3 separate regions of the Homo sapiens genome follow, and regions 1 and 2 are each linked to region 3. Evidence: promoter capture Hi-C in 16 types of primary human blood cells and fetal thymus (Javierre and others, 2016). All regions are on one chromosome and are shown on one strand. The core of a region is centred on a gene start or on the middle of the fragment in contact, and the rest is flanking DNA. Distances in the headings are between cores, read along the strand shown. Region 1 holds the start of PSEN1 (presenilin 1). Region 2 has its middle 5.2 kb from the start of RBM25. Region 3 holds the start of SPTLC2 (serine palmitoyltransferase long chain base subunit 2).

Region 1 (3,725 bases), core at 371-2,870, 4.5 Mb after region 3:
AATAAATTTGTATGCCTTTTCTCCAAAAGAAAAACAAAACAGGTTTTTTTTTTTTTTGAGACAGTCTCACTCTTTTGCCCAGGCTGCAGTGCAGTGGCATAATCTTGGCTTACTGCAACCTCCTTCTCCCGGGTTCAAGTGATTCTCCTGCCTCAGCCTCGCTTGGGAGCAGCTGGGACTACAGGCGCGCGCCCCCACGCCCAGCTAATTTTTTGTAGAGCCGGGGTTTCGCCGTGTTGTCTGGTCTCGAACTCCTCAGCTCAAGGATCCGCCCCGCGGCCTCCCAAAGTGCTGGGATTACAGGCGTGAGCCACCGCCCCGGGCCTCACATTTTATTTCTATTGGCTAGCGCTGCTCTAAATCTTCTGTTCCTTCTGCTACACCAGGCCTAACACTCAAAATCCCTGCCAACCTTTTCCTTCCTGAAGCTTCCCTCCCCTTCCTCAGCTCTGGCGACCCTGCGCTGTGGTGGTTCTCCAACCACACTCATTCTCCTCAGCTGGCTCCTTGCTCTTCTTCCACCCCCTCGTTGCAAGTGTTCCTAAGTGTTTGCCTTGGCCTCCTCTTCCCCTTCCTTAGCTTAGACTTCTCCACTGCTCCAACATCAACTGGAAATCTATGGAATTGATTCCTGTTTTCAGCTCCAGTCCTGTTCACAGGGCATTTTCACCTGCTGGCACTTCCAAAGTGACACTTCCAAACCACTTCCTCGCCCTCCTCTCTAAACCAGGTCTTTCTTCCTAACTTCCTTATTTCTGAGAATGTCTCTGCCATGTTCTAAACTGAAAACCTCCTAGTCAACTTCACACTTTATTCCCTGATCCTCAATTGGTTCCCATGTCCCGTTAGTGTTTCTTGTAAGCCTCTGCCACCACCGCAGATCGAACTCTAATCACATCTCACCTGAATTATGGAAAAGTCACCTCAATTCTCTCACCCATCCCAGCCTCCACTATGGATTAATATGCCTAAAGCAGAGCTGACCACAACGGTGAGAAGAATCTGAGAGGGAAGCAGCAGCAAACACAAGAGTCACTGGACATGCATGCCTCGAGACAGTCCCGACCAAGGAGAAAGCATCAGACCCCGTCTTCCGCCTCGAACAAGAGGCGTGCGGACTTCGCCCAGAATGCTCGTCGCCCCTGGACAAGGACACACCCGGGGCGTGAGGCGCGGAGTTTCACCAGTTGCTCAAGCAGACCCAGCCCAAGACGCTTCCTCTTTCTCCTACTCCACTCCAGTTCAGACGGCTACTAATCCCGGCCCAAGGCACCTGCGCCCTGAGACGTCTTCGAGCAAACAGCATTTCCGGACCAAGGCTCCCCGGAATCTCTCTCCACCCGGCCGCGCCCGAAGCCCGAGAAACGGGCCGCCCCTCCTGGTTTCCCACACGGGGTTCCCCAGCCCCAACCGGCCGCGCCCCGCCCCTCATCTTTTAGGACACCGGCTTCGCGGCCCGGGCGGCCACAAAGGGCCGGGCCCTGCCCGCGGCCGCCCATGTCCGCGGTGCCTTCCTGGCTTGCCCGGACTCCCCATCACGCACATACGCTTCCCCGCCGCCCCGCTGCCGCCGCGGCTCGTAGCTCAGGTTCCTTCCAGACCAGCCGCTGTTTTGTTTCCGATGTGAAACCGCGGACCCCGGAGCTGCCTGTCCCAGGCCCCGCCCGAGAACCCTCACCGTTGTCGTCATTTCCGGCTCTGGCGTCGTTGGCGGCCGGCCCACGGAGGAGGGGAGGAGCCAGGAGGAAGGGGGCGGGGCCTCCGGCCTGGAGAAACGATTGCGGGGAGAACCCAGAGCTCCACCTGGCCTTCCCCACCTGACGGAATCCGCCCAGAGCGCTGGCGTGGGTTGTCGGGGTTCTGAGGCTGCTCGAGCTGAGGACGAAAGCCCCTATATAAATTGGGCCCAGCGTGTGCTTCTCCCGGCATACAAGCGATGGCCATCCTAAATTTAACACCTGTCATTTCTTTAGGGTACCTATTTGCGAACCAGCTGCATCACAATCAAGAGAATGCTGTTAAAATCGCAAATATCTCTGCCCTCTCCCACCACTCAATGAATCAAAACTTCTGGTGGGTGGCGAGAACCTGAGAAACTGCATTTTAAACATCCTCCGCGATTCTTGGACTCCAACTTTGACAACCAGTCTTTCTAGGTGGCAAGCTAGCTGAGAGCAGAAAATGTGTCTGGTTTGCTGGGTCACTTGATTTTTGCATCTGCCTGCTCTTTGTCCAGTTTTGGTAAAGACAGTACCAATGTCTAATTCATTAGACAGCATACCACACTTACACATATATCCAAAAGCTAAAACTAAAAAATGAATACTACCTTATTTAATCAAGGTGAACGGAGAAATGTCAAACATGGGTATTCAAAAAACCGAAAATGAAATTAACGGTACATGGTATCTGGGCAAGTTACATTCTTCTAAAGTTTCTTTAAAAATCCACCCCCAAGCGGCCGGGTGCAGTCGCTCACGCCTGTAATTCCGGCACTTTGGGAGGCCGAAGCAGGCGGATCATGAGGTTGGGAGTTCTAGACCAGCCTAACCAACATGGTGAAACCCCGTCTCTACTAAAAATACAAAAAAATTAGCCGGGTGTGGTGGCGCGCTCCTGTAATCCCAGCTACTCGGGAGGCTGCAGCAGGAGAATCGCTTGAACCCGTGAGCTGAGATCACACCACTGCACTCCAGCCTGGGAGACAGAGCAAGACTCCATCTCAAAAAATAAAAATTAAAATTAAAAAATAAAATCCACCCCAAGCTATCCCTTCACATTCCTATCGCATCAATCTCCAATCCCTCCTCCCAACCCACTGCCAACCTTGTTCAAAAACATGAGATTCTAATACTTTTTACACACAAAAGCTTCATATTTAAGAACAAAAGTAATATTTTCCATTAGCAGAATGAAAGATAAGTTGTGGGAGAAGGTTGAACGAAAAAAGATGTTTTTAAAATTCTTCACCTCCCCCACTTTAACAAGAGTAGGGATTTTAGTTTGTTCATTTACAAGTGCTCATGCTTGTCAGCAGCACATATACATTTTACAAGTGCTGAGAACAGTGCCTGATACATAACAGTGCCTGATACATACAATAGTTCAGTATTGAACAAATACAGGCTAAAACCCATCTATTTGTGAACTACTTCAATCTGATTGCAGTCCGCTAATATTAATAGGATGTCTTAAAATGCTGATGAACTATTCTTAGAAACAATCTACAAAAATTTTGGGCAAAGATATTCATGGAATATTATATAGCAAAAAATTGGGAAACTAAATATGGTACAATAGGCAGGGTGCGGTGGCTCACGCCTGTAATTCCAGCACTTTGGGAGGCCAAGGTGGGCGGCTCATCTGAGGTCAGGAGTTCGAGACCAGCCTGATCAACATGGAGAAACCCCGTCTCTACTAAAAATACAAAAAAAGTTAGCCAGGCGTGGTGGCGCATGCCTGTAATCCCAGCTACTTGGGAGGCTGAGGCAGAATTGCTTGAGCCTGGAAGGCAGAGGTTGCAGTGAACCGAGATTGCGCCATTGCATTCCAGCCTGGGCAACAAGAGCGAAACTATGTCTCAAAAAATAAAAATAAATAAATAAATAAATAAATAAATAAATAAATAAATAAATAAATGTGGTACAATAAATTATGGTCCACCCACCTCACAGAATGTCATGAAAATTTTTCATGAACGCCTGGTCACGGTGGCTCATGCCTGT
Region 2 (3,624 bases), core at 1,100-3,599, 4.6 Mb after region 3:
TCATTCATTCATTTTGTTTGTTTTTTGGTTTGTTATTGCTGTTGTTATTTGAGATAGGGTCTCCCTTTGTTGTCCCGGCTAGAGTGCAGTGGCATGATCACGGCTCACTGCAGCCTCAACTTTCCAGGCTCCAGCGATTCTCCCACCTCAGCCTCCCAAAAGCCAGGATTACACTGAGCCCGGCTGGCTCAGCTACTCCTAAAGCCAGCTGTTCTAGGCTTATCAGTATGTAACCCAATACATTACTTTTCCGAAATCAGTTTGAGTTGAGTTTTCTATTCCTTACACAGAAAGAACTCTAAATGATACACTTATATACCACTTGTAGAGAACAAGCCAAGCCATTCATTTGCGATGCCAGTTATCCTCCTTCTATTTTTTTCTTACAAATCCTTGCTAAGGAAACTGTAGATAATTAATTTGGATATTACATTCTGTGTGCATTTGGACACCATTCTTTTTTTTTTCTTTTTTTTTTTTTTGAGATGGAGTTTTGTTCTCATTGCCCAGGCTGGAATGCAATGGCATGATCTCGGCTCACCGCAACTTCCGCCTCCCAGGTTCAAGCGATTCTCCTGGCATAGCTTCCCAAGTAGCTGGGATTACAGGCACATGCCACCATGCCGAGCTAATTTTGTATTTTTAGTAGAGGTGGGGTTTCTCCATGTTAGCCAGGCCGGTCTCCAACTCCCGACCTCAGGTGATCCACCTGCCACAGCCTCCCAAAATGCTGGGATTACAGGCATGAGCCACCACACCTGGCCTGGACCCTATTCTCATTGGCCACATCTGACCCAACTAAACAGCAGCATACCAGGAAAAATGTTGTTTAGCTGGAACTGAGCAGATCTTCTCAAAAATTGAAACTGGAGCCCAGCACAGTAGCACACACCTGTAGTCTCAATCATGAGGAGAGAGGATTGCTTGTGTGTGTGTGTGTGTTTGCGTGTGTATGCATGGCCATCATTATATATATATATATATATATATATATATATATATACACACACATAAATACATATACATACATAAATATATATATATATACAATGCCATTATATAGTATATAATGGCATAAAATATATAAATATAATACATATAATGCCATTATATATATAATATATGTGAATATATATAATATATATGTGTATATAGAGAGAAGAAGATAGAGAGAGGAAGCACATTAACACAGAATCTAGAGATCAAGGCTGGACTACCCAGCAAGGTGGAGTAACTGAAGTTTACCAAGTTAAGTCAGGACTCTGAAAGGATGTTAAAGTGCTCCCTTGTTAGTAATAGTCCTAGGCTCTTGACAGAAGCAAACATAGTTCCCATGGAGAAAAGAATCCCTAATTTAGGCTTCAGGATTCTGATATCAAATGTGAGCTTAAAATTTAAAAATGCAGGCCAGGCATGATGGCTCACGCCTGTAATCCCAGCGCTCTGGGAGGCTGAGGCGGGTGGATCACCTGAGATCAGGAGTTTGAAACCAGCCTGACCAACATGGAGAAACCCTGTCTCTACTAAAAATACAAAACTTAGCCAGGTGTGGTGGCACTCACCTGTAGTCCCAGCTATTTGGGAGGCTGAGGCAGGAGAATTGCCTGAACCCAGGAGGCGGAGGTTGCAGTGAGCCAAGATGGCACCACTGCACTCCACCCTGGGTGACACAGCGAGACTTAGTCAAAAAAAAAAATTGACCGGGCAATGTGGCTCACACCTGTAATTCCAGCACTTTGGGAGGCTGAGGCAAGCGGATCACCAGAGGTCAGGAGTTTGAGTCCAGCCTGACCAACATGGAGAAATCCCGTCTCTACTAAAAATACAAAAAATTAGCCAAGCATGGTGGTGCATGCCTATAATCCCAGCTACTCAGGAGGTTGAGGCAGGAGAATCGCTTGAACCTGGAAGGTGGAGGGTGTGGTGAGCCAAGATCACAGCATTGCACTCCAGCCTGGGTAACAAGAGTGAAACTCTGTCTTAAAAAAAAAAAAAAAAAGGCCAAGGGCCAGGCATGGCGGCTCACACCTCTAATCCCAGCACTTTGGGAGGCCGAGGAGGTGGATTGCTTTGAGCTCAGGAGTTCAAGACCAGCCTGGCCCACATGGTGAAACCCCATCTCCACTAAAGTACAAAAATTAGCCGTGCGTGGTGGCACATGCCTGTGGTCCCAGCTACTCAGGAGGCTGAGGCAGGAGAATCAGGTGAACTTGGGAGGTGGAGGTTGCAGTGAGCTGAAATCGCTCCACTGCACTCCAGCCTGGGCAACAGAGTGAGACTGTCTAAAAAAAAATTAAAGTGCCAAGAATATTAGGAATGAGCCACCATAAATGCAGCATCACACACACATACACACATGTGCACACACAAAACCAACAGACTTAAATTCCCAATTCAGATATTGAAATATTAGATATGGAATATAAAAAGACTACATAGGAAATCTTTAAAGGGATTTTTCTTAGGCTGAGGACAGTGGCTAACGCCTATAATCCCAGTGCATTGCGAGGCCAAGACAGGAGGATCACTTGAGTCTTGGAGTTTGAGACCAGTCTGGGCAACATAGGGAGACTCTGTTTCTAAAAAAATTTTTTTTGTAATTAGCCAGGCATGGTGGGGCACAGGTCAAGGCTGCATGAACCATGATCACACCATTGTACTTCACCCTGGGTGACAGAGTGAGACCCTGTCCCACTCTGTAGAAGAAATAAGTAAATAAATAAATAAATTAGTCATCAATAGATGTTGAATTTTATGGAATTCTTTTTTAGCAATTGTTGAAATGAACATATTAATTATCAATGATAAAACCTTAAAACTTTGAGAACATCTTATGAATTCATGATAGGGAAAGATTTCTTTTTTCTTTTTTCTTTTTTTTTTCTTTTTTTTGAGACAGAGTTTTACTTTGTCACCCAGGCCGGAGTGCAGTGGCGTGATCTTGGCTCACTGCAACCTCCGCCTTCCAAGTTCAAGGAATTCTCCTGCCTCAGCCTCCGGAGTAGCTGGGATTACAGGCGCCCACAACCACGCCCAGCTAATTTTCGTATTTTTAATAGAGACGGGGTTTCACCTTGTTGGCCAGGCTGGTCTCGAACTCCTGACCTCAAAAGTGATCTGCCCGCCTCGGCCTCTCAAAGTGCTAGGATTACAGCCATGAGCCACTGTGCCCCGACAGGAAGGATTTCTTAAGGAAGATACTATAAGCATAACCTAAACAGAAAAGATTGACAAATCCAACTATATTAAGAACTTTTGATATATTGAAAGTCACCATCAAAAAAAAATGTTGGCCGGGCGCGGTGGGTCACGCCTGTAATCCTAGCACTTTGGGAGGCCAAGGCGGGTGGATCACGAGGTCAGGAGATCAAGACCATCCTGGCTAACACAGTGAAACCCTGTCTCTACTAAAAATACAAAAAAATTAGCCAGACGTGGTGGCGGGCGCCTGTAGTCCCAGCTACTCGGGAGGCTGAGGCAGGAGAATGGCGTGAACCCGGGAGGTGGAGCTGGCAGTGAGCTGAGATCGTGCCACTGCACTCTAGCCTGGGTGACAGAGCAAGACTCTGTCTCAAAAAAAAAAAAAAAAAAAAAAAATCTTGAATATGGAACATGAGCACAGGG
Region 3 (3,612 bases), core at 203-2,702:
TACAGATGTATATTCACTTTGGGATCAATAGTGTTTGTCAACTCAAATAGGATGTGTGGGATGAATGATCCCACCTTCTGTTAGATTATTCAGCTCCTAAGTCATGCAAAACCAATACCTTGTGGACCTCCTTTCTAAAGCTCCTGCAGGGTGGGGAAAGAATGCACGGATTCTCATAGGTGCATTTAGCAATTACTAGTAACCAACACTTAATGAATGCTTACTAATTGCTAGGTCCTGTACAAAATACATTACATACATAAACTTATTCAATCTTCACGACAACTATTATTGTCCCCACTGAACAGATGAAGACACATAGAGGTCACTCAGCTAGTAAGTGGCGCAGCTAGGATTTAAAACCCAGACCGACTCCAGAGTCCATACTCTCAATTATGATACTAAATTCTTTATGGATAACAGAAAGTCTCTAATTGTAATGTAGATCAATTTCCTTGCTTTCTAACCCCATGGGAAGATGGAACTAAAAGGGTGAGAAAATAATATTTATTATACTCCTACTATAAGCCTAGTATTATAAGAGGTGCATAATGGGTTAATGATATAATTCTTGCTGTAAGTCTATGAAGCAGGAAGTATTAACTCCATTTTAAAGAATTTGGCTTCTAAAGTGGTTAAACACAGTGCTCAAGTTTTAGCTTCCAGTTATTGGCAGAGTTGGAATTAGACCAGGTTTTCTAACTTTGAAGGAAAGACTTAATTTAAAGGAGACTGTATAGAAAACCCTGCCAAGGGCAAATGTGAAGGGCACGTGAAAAGGCATCTGAATTATTACTTATAATAATTCAGAAATAGTGAATGTGTGGCGCATATTGAAGAATGATGAGAGATTGTCAAAAAATCTATTCTATAAACACTCACAGAGGAATCAGCTAATTAAATAAGCGAGCTGCCTGTCTTGGGCTAGGACATAAACTCCAAAACTTCCCACGAGGCAAGGGCAAAGAGGGCGCCACCTGTCCTGGAGAACCTGGGAACCCGCTCTAGAGACTTCGGCTCAGCCCCTTTTATTTCCTCACACTCTAATTGGCTACTTTTCCCTGGGCTCCGCCTCCTCCTCGGTCTGGACCATTAAACAGGCAAGCCCTACCCCGGACCTGGATGCGGCCTCCAATCAGGTGCCAGGCCCTGGAGTCCCTCTAGAGAAGCCCCCTCTCCACCGGCGAGGCGCTTTGCTCTCGTCCGTGATTGGCCAGGCAGCAGCATGGGGTCCGCCTCCTTCTCTTCCAGATTGGTCAGCGGTCCTCAGGACCACATCCCTCTCGGCAGGTCCCCGCCGCTTTTTCCCTTCGCTGCGTGGCCTTGGCCGAGACCGGTCCTCTGCGGAGAGGGCCCCGCCCTCTGTGAAGGCCCGCCCGGGAATTGGCGGCGGCGCTGCAGCCATTTCCGGTTTCGGGGAGGTGGGTGGGGTGCGGAGCGGGACTTGGAGCAGCCGCCGCCGCTGCCACCGCCTACAGAGCCTGCCTTGCGCCTGGTGCTGCCAGGAAGATGCGGCCGGAGCCCGGAGGCTGCTGCTGCCGCCGCACGGTGCGGGCGAATGGCTGCGTGGCGAACGGGGAAGTACGGAACGGGTACGTGAGGAGCAGCGCTGCAGCCGCAGCCGCAGCCGCCGCCGGCCAGGTACGAGGGGCCCGCGCGGCGGGGCCGGGGTGGCGGTGTGGACTGGCGGAGGGGCGGCCGGGCGGGGCGAGGTCTCCGGGCCATCCGCTGGGCAATCCGCGGGGCGGGCGCCGTTCGCAGGTGTGGGCGGCAGTGTCCGGCCGCTGGCCCGACCTCCACGAGCCTGGAGGCTCAAGGACGGCTCGGGGGCTCCCCACCTCTCCGCGCCTGGAGGTCTTACTCCCGGAGCTCTGGGTTCTGCTCAGAGCTCCGGGTACTTTTCTCTGCCCCATTCTGCCAGAAGTGTGTGCTGTCCCCAGGGGAAGCGATGAGGGGCCCTTCGGACTCCAGTGGGAGCCGCCCAAGGGCTCCGGAGGGTCCCTTCTCAAACCCCTGAGGTTATTGCTTCCTTTTAAAGTCCTGCAGTCGTCCAAAGAAAACCACCCATGGGGTCCTTAAGAAGCAAAGAAAATTAGGCGGTGGTGTCAGATGGAAACACACCCAGCCTCTCCCAACCACATTCTGGACTACCACGTTCAGTCCCCAACCAGGACATTGGTCCATAGATCTGGCAGGGAATCCAAGCTGGTCCCTCGAAAGCATCATTCTCTTAACTCTGCCGGTGGTGAGACTCTACCCCAGGCTCCAGGTTGGATTAGGTGGCCCCTTCGACCCTTTCCTGAACACGAGTGCTATCACACAAGGGGATTGTTTAGCCTGGTGGTGACTTGCGATGACTCTATACTAATTAACCATGCTGAATCATCAACCAAGTTCAGGCAGTTCTAAAATATTTTGAAAAGTTCTAAATTCAAGACAATGCTTATTATCAACCTTACAGTGGTCTGGACTGACAGATATTCTGTTGAAATGTGTTTTTAAAGATGAGCTGGTTAAAAAGATGCAAGATCGGTGTTCCTGGAAGAGAGTGTTGCGATAATTTTGCAGTTGACTTTAATACGTTTAAGTCTTGTACAGATATTAAGGAACGCTTAGAAAGTACTCTGTTTCCCTTTAGCGGGAGTGTGACTGTTGCAGTTTGATAGGATGGTGATCTTAATTTGGCTTTAACATAACTACTCCCCAGATGAGTAGTTATGATGGATAGGTCTGTTACTGTTTGCTGCGAAGCAGAAAATAAAGCATTTTTCCAGGTCATGTTGAGATATTGAGACTGAGTTGAGGGGAAAAATAAGTAAAGCAGACTTGACCTCCCCTGAAGTTGTAAGGTGTCAAAGCGAAGTAATACACAGATCAAAAGATTTGTTTTCACTTTTAAAGAAATAATTGTGTGAGGGAGGAAGTGATAACAGTCAGCTCATTATAAGCAGTGGAATAGTTTGTCGTTTTCCTAGCAATGTAAACGACTTATAAGACAAAATTGTTGTGGTATAGAATGTAATAGGGAAATTTAACGGGTAGGAGTTAGAAAATACATTTGCAGGTGAATTTCATTGAGGTATGATTTTTTTTTTGTTTTTGTTTTTGTTTTTTTTTTTCAGACAGTTTTGCTCTTGTCACCCAGGCTGGAGTGCAATGGCGCGATCTCGGCTCACTGCAGCCTCCACCCCCTGGGTTCAAGCGATTCTCCTGCCCCAGCCTCCCGAGTAGCTGGGATTACAGGCGCCCGTCATCACGCCCGGCTAAATTTTGTATTTTTATTAGAGATGGGGTTTCACCATGTTGGCCAGGTTGGTCTCGAACTCCTGACCTCAGGTGATTGGCCTGCCTTGGCCTCCAAAAGTGCTGGGATTACAGGCGCACCAGGCCGAGGTATGATTTTTTTTGTTTTTTTGGTTTTTTTTGAGATGGAGTCTCGCTCTGTCGCCCAGGCTGGAGTGCAGTGGCGCGATCTCGGCTCACTGCAAGCTCTACCTCCCAGGTTCACGCCATTCTCCTGCCTCAGCCTCCCAAGTAGCTGGGCCTACAGGCACCCGCCACCACGCCCGGCTAATTTTTTGTATTTTTAGTAGATACGGGGTTTCACTGTGT

Evidence for each region. Contacts are between HindIII fragments. The CHiCAGO score rates a contact against its expected background, and 5 or more counts as called.
Region 1: the fragment with the promoter of PSEN1 here is called in contact with the fragment with the promoter of SPTLC2 in region 3 in 1 of 17 cell types (neutrophils); the score reaches 12.7 in neutrophils.
Region 2: a contact is called between a fragment that was not itself captured here and the fragment with the promoter of SPTLC2 in region 3, in 1 of 17 cell types (monocytes). The highest score is 6.4, in monocytes.

What each region holds. Positions count from the first base shown.
Region 1 is chr14:73,134,402-73,138,126 of GRCh38, reverse strand. It overlaps PSEN1 (presenilin 1), which reads right to left and starts at 1,620. Exons shown (of 12, transcript NM_000021.4): 1 at 1,544-1,620. RefSeq lists an enhancer at 1,161-1,270 and silencers at 1,441-1,500, 1,761-1,840. The HindIII fragment of the contact is 2,442 bases long and covers 431-2,872 here.
Region 2 is chr14:73,051,543-73,055,166 of GRCh38, reverse strand. No RefSeq gene overlaps it. Among named protein-coding and RNA genes, the nearest start is that of RBM25, 5.2 kb to the left of the region's middle. The HindIII fragment of the contact is 4,879 bases long and covers 1-3,624 here.
Region 3 is chr14:77,614,477-77,618,088 of GRCh38, reverse strand. SPTLC2 (serine palmitoyltransferase long chain base subunit 2) reads left to right here and starts at 1,452. Exons shown (of 12, transcript NM_004863.4): 1 at 1,452-1,641. The coding sequence starts at 1,510. RefSeq lists silencers at 1,026-1,085, 1,416-1,465, 1,606-1,805 and enhancers at 1,125-1,657, 1,986-2,195. The HindIII fragment of the contact is 6,254 bases long and covers 1-3,612 here.